Regions from separate parts of the Homo sapiens genome. Here all the other regions are linked to region 1. The links are contacts of gene promoters, found by promoter capture Hi-C in blood cells and fetal thymus (Javierre and others, 2016). All regions are on one chromosome and are shown on one strand. The core of a region is centred on a gene start or on the middle of the fragment in contact, and the rest is flanking DNA. Distances in the headings are between cores, read along the strand shown. Region 1 holds the start of ZNF593 (zinc finger protein 593). Region 2 holds the start of DHDDS (dehydrodolichyl diphosphate synthase subunit). Region 3 has its middle 12 kb from the start of PAQR7.

Evidence for each region. The method cuts DNA at HindIII sites, captures the fragments that hold promoters and counts their contacts. A CHiCAGO score of 5 or more calls a contact.
Region 2: a contact is called between the fragment with the promoter of DHDDS here and the fragment with the promoter of ZNF593 in region 1, in 1 of 17 cell types (M2 macrophages). The highest score is 6.0, in M2 macrophages.
Region 3: a fragment that was not itself captured here is called in contact with the fragment with the promoter of ZNF593 in region 1 in 1 of 17 cell types (erythroblasts); the score reaches 5.9 in erythroblasts.

The regions. Positions count from the first base shown.
Region 1 is chr1:26,168,458-26,171,157 of GRCh38, forward strand. It overlaps ZNF593 (zinc finger protein 593), which reads left to right and starts at 1,451. Exons shown (of 3, transcript NM_015871.5): 1 at 1,451-1,726; 2 at 1,961-2,023; 3 at 2,118-2,416. The coding sequence starts at 1,527. The coding sequence ends at 2,259. It overlaps C1orf232 (chromosome 1 open reading frame 230), which reads right to left and starts at 506. Exons shown (of 4, transcript NM_001364669.2): 1 at 1-506. The coding sequence starts at 42. It overlaps ZNF593OS (ZNF593 opposite strand), which reads right to left. Exons shown (of 4, transcript NM_001395468.1): 3 at 2,699-2,700; 4 at 1,064-2,141. RefSeq lists an enhancer at 1,221-1,320. The HindIII fragment of the contact is 4,459 bases long and covers 251-2,700 here.
Region 2 is chr1:26,430,963-26,433,721 of GRCh38, forward strand. It overlaps DHDDS (dehydrodolichyl diphosphate synthase subunit), which reads left to right and starts at 1,359. Exons shown (of 9, transcript NM_205861.3): 1 at 1,359-1,414; 2 at 1,929-2,046. The coding sequence starts at 1,984. It overlaps LOC124903883 (a long non-coding RNA gene), which reads right to left and starts at 1,275. Exons shown (of 2, transcript XR_007065557.1): 1 at 1,011-1,275; 2 at 1-156. RefSeq lists enhancers at 578-1,114, 899-958, 1,029-1,088, 1,115-1,651, 1,189-1,678. The HindIII fragment of the contact is 8,751 bases long and covers 1-2,759 here.
Region 3 is chr1:25,885,991-25,888,773 of GRCh38, forward strand. It overlaps a transcript of STMN1 not described here and the pseudogene SNRPFP2. Among named protein-coding and RNA genes, the nearest start is that of PAQR7, 12 kb to the left of the region's middle. The HindIII fragment of the contact is 233 bases long and covers 1,160-1,392 here.

The DNA.
Region 1 (2,700 bases), core at 201-2,700:
TAGCACTTTGGACTTGTAGGTTTTCCAGAAGGCCTGGTTCATGGCTGCAGGGGGAAGGGGCCTGGCACGCAAGCACAGGAAGGTGGTGGCTCAGTGGATACCAGTGAGTCTGGCTCTAGGAACTTGGTGAGGCCAAGAGCCTGTCCGAGGGATCCAGTGACTTCATTAAAGATGCACCAGCCTCCCCAGCTGGCACAGTGCCCAGGAGGTGAACCTGATCCAAAGGAGTCGGGGAGTGGGGGATGGAACAAGCTTCTGCCACCTTAGCCCCTTGTCTTGACCCATATTGGCCAAGAATAATGAAGTCATTTGTCTCTAGAGAGGCTTTCTTCCTGGGCCTAGGAGTACTTGAGTTGTTCATCTCTTAGCATGCCTCCAGGAAAATCTTCTTCCATTCACAAAATCCTGAGGTCTGGGACCCACACTGGAGCCCCTGTGACTGTAGTCATACTAGTTGTGTCCTCAGCAGGGCTCCACCCTGTGTCCCTACTTAGCCTCAATGAACTGGAGCAGGAAGGTCCGCAGGCCCCCAGTGGGCACCTTGGGCTTACATTTCACTCCTTTGTCTGGGCTGGAAACTGATTCCTCTCCCCAGGGATACACGTGCCTGTCTCCTTGTTTCCTGGCAACAGACTCCAAAGAGCTGGAGCCCCTGAATTATTGCTAAGCTCCTCTGGCCCCTTCCAGCTGAGTTGGCTCTGGCCAGCCTGGGAGGCACCAGGCTCCTGTGAATGGGGAAAGGCCCTCTAGCCACTCTGAGCATGCAACACCTAGGCCTTTGCTGCCAGCCCACCTCTGGGAGCCCAGGGCTTAGAGAAAGGAGGCAAAGATGGAGAGGTCCTTCTATGAGTACTTGTGAGAGGAACTGATCCCTCTGGAGTCTGGATGCCTGAGGACTGCACTCTCTGGGGAGGAACACCCTTCACGGATTTGGTTGGGGTCAGAGAGAGGATGGAGACTCAAGGGAATAACGGGAGCCCGGAGAAGTGAGGGCTTTTTCAGGGACTGGAGATTATCTCGGGAAGCCCTGGTGGGGCTGGGATTCCAAACTTATTCACTCTCAGTCATTTACTAATTTATTCATGACACAGACATTTATCAGTGCTTTCCAGAGATAAAGCATCCCACCCCCACCGCGGAGTCCAAGGTCTGGGAAACAGGAAGGGATGACAGGAGTACAGGTTGGCACTGATACTGGTTGGACCAGGCCAGGAAGAGCAGGGCAGCAAGACGGCCCCGAAACCCCCAGGCGCACGCACCACCCCGCGCCTCCCCAGCGAGGGCCCGCGGGGCCATGCCCTTCAGTGGGCACACTTCTGGGAGCCCGTCCTGAGCTCGGTCACTGACGTCGACGGCCGCCTGGCGGCGCTCGAGCCGCTGGCCGAGAGTGACGTCATCAGAGGCGGTCCGGCCGAGCCTGCCTAGCCCCCCGGCGTGGCCTGACGTAGCTGATCGGCCCGGAAGTGCTCACACGTGTGCTCCCTGCCCTGCTCCTGGCCCCTTGGCCGGCCGGGCTGTTTCTGGCCATGGGTCGCTCCCGCCGGACAGGCGCGCACCGAGCGCACTCTCTAGCCCGGCAGATGAAGGCGAAGCGGCGGCGGCCGGACTTGGATGAGATTCACCGCGAGCTGCGGCCTCAGGGATCCGCACGACCCCAGCCCGACCCAAACGCCGAGTTCGACCCCGACCTGCCAGGGGGCGGTCTGCACCGCTGTCTGGCCTGCGCGTGAGTCCCGGACGAGCCCGGCCTGGGGCGGAGGAGGGTCCGCGGTACCGGCCGGGAGATGTGAAGTTGAAGCCCCAGGCAGCGCAGAGTCTTCTCTCTTGGGACCCGTGGGTCCGCCCGCCTCCCGTTTCTCAGACCCGGATCCTGGCGTCAGGGACAAGCTAGGGCTAGGGAGATAGGTGCACTTGGGAGACTATCACCTCCTCACTCTCCTTCTCACTTCCATTCCTACAGGAGGTACTTCATCGATTCCACCAACCTGAAGACCCACTTCCGATCCAAAGACCACAAGAAAAGGTATGAAGGAGTAAGGAGAGGATTGATGGATGGGTGCTCAGCAGATAGGGCTCTCACCTGGTCAGCTCCCAACTCCTGTTTTTCTTTCTCCCAGGCTGAAGCAGCTGAGCGTCGAGCCCTACAGTCAGGAAGAGGCGGAGAGGGCAGCGGGTATGGGATCCTATGTGCCCCCCAGGCGGCTGGCAGTGCCCACGGAAGTGTCCACTGAGGTCCCTGAGATGGATACCTCTACCTGACATGGCCTGAAGATGCAGGGCAGAGGAATTGCCCATGGACAGTGACGCAAGGACTAGGCTGGGAGGGAGCGTGCCAACCCCTTTTGCCTCTGGGTTTGGGGAGCGGAGGGCCTCTTCTTGGTGCCCTGCCCCAAATAAAGGAACTGGACAAAGAGAACTTGCCTCCAACTCTAACTTCCAGGCCGCTGTCTCAAACTCCTGCCCTGGAAGGGCTTCTCTACTACTTTCTGTACACCAGGCCTAGGGTGTCTACTCCCCACTTGGTCTATCTCTGCCTTCCCTCTGAGGTCCTAGCATCTGAACTGGAGCACCCAGATGGAGGCCTGATGCAGTGTGGGGTGGCGGGAGTGGGATCAGATTACTCTGTCCTGCTTCTGACAGAGACTGATCCCCAGAAAAGAAGGCTTCTGAGATTGCACCCCCCTCCCGAGTCACCTACCC
Region 2 (2,759 bases), core at 109-2,608, 260 kb after region 1:
TACAAAAATTAGCCAGGCTTGGTGGCACGCGCCTGTAGTCCCAGCTACTCAGGAGGATGAAGCAGGAGAAACGCTTGAACCCGGGAGGCGGAGGCTGCAGTGAGCCGAGATCGCGCCACTGCACTCCAGCCTGGGCGACATAGCCAGACTCCGTCTCTAAATAAATAAATAAATAAATAAATAAATAAAAATAATACTGGTTGTATAAGAATCTGTAAAGAATTTTTTCCTCCTCTTTCAATTTTGAGAAAATTGAACTACAAATTTGTTTTGTGAGCCTAGAATTCTTGCAACCCTTTTTTTCGTAAAGGTTCAGTAGAGCTAATGCCCTTAACTTTTCTACCAGGGTTAATTTCTGTTATTTTCATTTATGTACTGCCAAAGCGAGCACCTTTCTGTTATTTTAGAAGTCATGCTTTTTTTTTTTTTCTTTTTTCAGACAGAGTTTCGCTCCTGTTGCCCAGGCTGGAGTGCAGTGGCCTGATCTTGGCTCACCGCAACCTCCGCCTCCCGGGTTCAAGCGATTCTCTTGCCTCACCCTCCCGAGTAACTGGGATAACAGGCGCCCGCCACCACGCCCGGCTCATTTTCTGTATTTTTAGTACAGACGGGGTTTCACGATGTTGGTCAGGCTGGTCTCAAACTCCTGACCTCAGGTGATCCGTTCGCCTCGGCCTCCCAAAGTGCTGGGATTACAGGCGTGAGCCACCGCGCCTGGCCTAGAAGTCATTCTTATGGCAGAAATCTTTCTGGCCTTACCCCTTCTCTTGAGTTCGTTGGGATAGGTCTTGGGAATCCACAAATCCTAAAATATGCGTGCCTTAAGTCGGCACAAAATAGATTAATATTCTGCGCGTCTGTAAGATTGGCTGCGGCTAGAAACTCCTTCCCAGACGATTAAATCCACTAAATAAAATACGAAACGGTAACGAGATAATTTTTAAGAGTATGCACCAGTGCTCTAATGAAGCCCGGTTCTGCGGCATTCCAAGGTAAGGACGCTGCCTTACCCAGTCTCTCAGCAGTCCTAAGCTGCCTTCGACGGCCGAGAAGCGCCTCGATTCTTGCCCCTGGCTCATTTCCCTGGCGCGTTTTCCAGACGCCTCCGCTCCCAACGCTGGGCTCAACCCTGTCTTCCCCAGCTGGTCTCCCAGCACGTGGCCTGGAGCCCAGCCTCCCGCCCCGCTCGGTCACGTGAGCCTGGCTCTCACCCGCGCCGGCTTCCACACCCCGCGGGACTGAGAACCGCCCTCCCACTAGCTCGCAGGCGCAGGCGCAGGGCAGGGTCCCCTCAGTTTGGGTGACGGAAGGGGCGTGTCGCAGCGCCCAAAGATGACGTGTTCTGCCAGCGCCACGTCATGAGGAAGTGCCGGCCCACTGAAGCCGTGGGGACGCGCCCAGCGGAGCTAATCAGGTGCCACTGAACTGAAGGGGTGAACTAGAGGAGAAGAGGGTGACTGGGCGGGGAGCAGCTGCGGGAGAAGCAAAGGGACGACTGAGGGAATAATCAGGAGACCACTGAGGCGTGAAGTACTAGGCGTGCGATAACTGAAGGAGTTAGTAACTGGGAGCACAGAGTTGGAAACAGCTTAGGGGAAGATGGAGAAGGAAGAAACGGGGAATGATCAAGATGTGGGCACCATGATGTGGCAGGAAACCGACTTAGATGTTCAGAAGAAGTCAGTGCAGATACGGAGGAAATGGGAATGGGAAGAAGTCTGCAAAGCCAGGAGAACCGAGGAAAGGCTTTTGCCTCCAGAGGTCACATTGCGTTATAAAACTCTGGGTGGTAAAAGATTATAGGCTTAGACCAGTGTCTTTGGATTCTAATGCTGGCTGCTCTCCATAGTCCATCTGATTCCCCAGAAGTCAGTTATAGCTCTTCGCAAACCTTGGTGACTTCTTATTTTCTTTCTTGTTTATCCAAGATTACCTGGCTGGTGTTTGCTTGTTCTGGAGTGATCTTCTGACTGGAAAAGAACTATGTCATGGATCAAGGAAGGAGAGCTGTCACTTTGGGAGCGGTTCTGTGCCAACATCATAAAGGTGAGCAATGGCCCAGAGCACCGGTTGGCCTTCTGGTCAGTTGGATAATCTTATATAAAAACCTGTTATTAAAGTTGATGATGTTAAGTGCAATTCATGATGTTAAGTGGAATTTAGCAAGGAAACCAAAGAGTCTTAGAATGGTAACTTCCAGGTCTACATTTCTGGTAGACTTTTGTCCTAACTCTGATATTTTCTGGAAGCCCAGGCCTCTTAATGTCACTGGGCAGCCTAGACTGCTAAGTATTCTTTATAGAGAACTGAAATTTGTTTCCCTGGAACATTGATCCATTGTTCCATGTACTGTCTTCTTGATTTAAATAGGTTAATCTTTGATATATTCTTTGATCTGTCAGTAGAGCTGGGCCCGGTCACTCACGCCTGTAATCCCAGCAATTTGGGAGGCTGAGGTGGGCAGATTGTTTGAGCTCAGGAGTTGAGACCAGCCTGGGCAACATGGCAAAACCCCGATTCTCCAAAAAATTAAAAAAATAGCAGGGCTTGGTGGTGTGCACCTGTAGTCCCAGCTACTCGGAAGGCTGAAGTGGGAGAATTTCTTGAGCCCAGGTCAAAGCTGCAGTGAGTCATGATTGTGCCACCACACTCCAGCCTGGGTGACAGAACGGGACTGTCTCAAAAAAAAGAGTTCAGAACAAGACTCTGTCTCAAAAAAAAAAAAAAAAAAAGAGTTTGGGCTCTAGACGCAGACAAAC
Region 3 (2,783 bases), core at 26-2,525, 280 kb before region 1:
CCAGGGATCTTTAAAAAATACTGACACCTGGCCCCCACCCCCAGACATTCTGATCTTGTTGGTATGGGAAGCAACCTAGGCATCTGGATTTTTAACGAGTAGGAAAGGTCAGGCAGGAACGGGGTGTGGGGAGGAGGTTTGATAGGAAGAGGTGGTGATGACCTAGGCTCTGGAAGCCTAAGGTTCTAAGGCAAGGAGGTCAGGGTACTGGGCTGGTGCAAAGTAGGCATGTGACAAATATGAATTGGAGGACAGTGGGAGGGAAGGGCAGAGGGAAGGAATGGAAGGAAAAAAAGAAAATCCAAAACTCAGGCAGTGCAGCAAGTTTGAGTCTATTCTCCATCATTAGCTTTCTATGTGACCTTGGAAAAATGGCTTCCCCTCTCTGGGCTTCATTTGGAAAAGGAGGAGGTTGGATTTGTTGATGATTAAGATCCTTCTGGCCCCAGATTTCTAGGATGCTTAGGCGGGACTCCTTAGTGGGAGACGAGTGCACCTGCATCCACAGTCCAGCCATGCTCACATGCTGCCATCTCGCCTCTCTCCACCCTCCATGTGCTGCTCCCTTTGTCTGGAACACCCCCACCACTTTTTTTTTTTTTTTTTTTTTTGGTGGGGGATGGAGTCTCACTCTGTTGCCCAGGCTGGAATGCAGTCGTGTGATCTCAGCTCACTGCAACCTCCGCCTCCCAGGTTCAAGAGATTCTCCTGCCTCAGCCTCCTGAGTAGCTGGGACTACAGATGCCTGCCACCACACCTAGCTAATATTTTTGTATTTTGAGGAGAGATGGGGTTTCACCATGGACAGGATCGTTTCGATCTCTTGAACTCGTGATCTGCCTGCCTCGGTCTCCCAAAGTGCTGGGATTACAGGCATGAGCCACCGTGCCTGGCCCCACTGCTTTTATTTATCTGCTCAACTCCTGCTTCTCATCTGGGACTCAGCTCAGGTGTCAACTCCTCCAGGCAGCCCTCGTTGACCGGTCCCCACCACCCTGTTCTGACTTGGATGCCCTTTCCTGTACCAAGGAAAGGTAGGTCCCTCTGATTATCCTACCAGACCCATTATACTGTGACACCTGTTAATTACCTGTTTCCCTCCTGGGTTGTGTGTCTTGTTCTGTGACTTGTCTATATTCCCAGCACTCAGCATAGAGAAAGCTTCTTAAAAAGTGGGATGGAGGAATGAAGGTTGCCAGGCCTTCGTTCAGGTGCCTGGACCACAGGAATGAACAAGAGACATTGTCCCTTTCCAAAGCAAGGAGAAAGGGGAAATCAGGAAGTGGTTTGTTAAACAATGACAAAAAGGGGTACAGGAAAAGGGGCCAAGAGGTTGTCCAGGAGCCTGCAGCATTTGCCCATAGTTACGGTAAGTCTACCCCTCAATCCCGAAGCTTTCCTCAGTGGGTTAACAGGAAAGCCGGTGATGCTGAAACAAAGTGGGGAATGGAGTACAAGGGCTATCTGGCATCTTAGATGGCTACATGAACATGCAGCTTGCAAATAAGAGAAATACATAGGTGGGGAGCTGTCTGGACATCTGGGTGAAGTTTTAATATGGTATAAAAATGTCCTTTATAGTAGAGGTATGGAAGAAAAGGAAGAAAATGGGGGAAGTGAGAGAACAGCATCTTTTCTGGGGGATTTTGAAAATATAGATTTCTAGACAATAAAGATGTGTTTTTTGGGGTTTTTTTGTTTTGTTTTGTTTTTTTGAGATGGAGTCTCGCTCTGTCGCCAGGCTGGACTGTAATGGCGCAATCTTGGCTCACTGTAACCTCCGCCTCCCGAGTTCAAGTGGTTCTCCTGCGTCAGCCTCCTGAGTAGCTGGGACTACAGGCATGTGCCATCATGCCTGGCTAATTTTTGTATTTTTAATAGAGACGGGGTTTCGCCATTTTGGCCAGGATGGTCTCGATCTCTTGACTTCGTGATCCACCCACCTCGGCCTCCCAAAGTGCTGGGATTACAGGCGTGAGCCACCGTGCCCGGCCCTTGTTGTTGTTGTTGTTGTTGTTTTTTAAAGAGGTTGCCCAGGGGTGGGAGGGGGGTCAGTGAATTTCTGGAGTCAGAAAGCCCTGGGTTTAAATCTAGCACAACCGCTGGTTAGCTGTGTGACTAGAGCTGCTTTCTTAACCTTCCTATAACATGGGGATAATCAGAACACCTCCGTCAGAGGTAGAACACAGCACAGTGCTTGGCTCCTAGAAAACACTGAAGAAACATGTTGACTATTTTGATTTGCTAACATCACGAGTGGGTGAGGAGGGCTGTGGGAATAGACATGCCATGCCCGACCACCATCACCTGTTCACACCTCATACCCCACCACCCTTGGGATTAAATGAAATGCAATTGCCCATAAGTCAGGCTGGCTTCTTGATTACAGCAGAATGCAAACTCCTCAAGGGTGAGAATCCTTGCTTTATTTGCTGCTAAATTCTCGGCACCTGGGATAGTGCTGGTGCATAGTAGGTCCTCAATAAATATTTCTTGAATGAATAAACGACTGAACTCTGGGTTGACTAGCTCAGTGTATGGGGTAACCTCATCCTCCTTCCCTAGACCCACGTCCCTCCTCCAAAAATCTTGAACTCAACATGACTCCATCAGCTATGACTTCATTCAGCAGCAAGCAATGAAAAGCCACAATGGGCCAGGTGTGGTGGCTCAAAAACAGTGGCTTAAACAAGTAAAATGATCAACTTGCCTAGACTGGTATGTCAGCTCAATGATATTATCAAGGACCCACGATCTATCCATCTCCCTGTCCCAGCCATCAT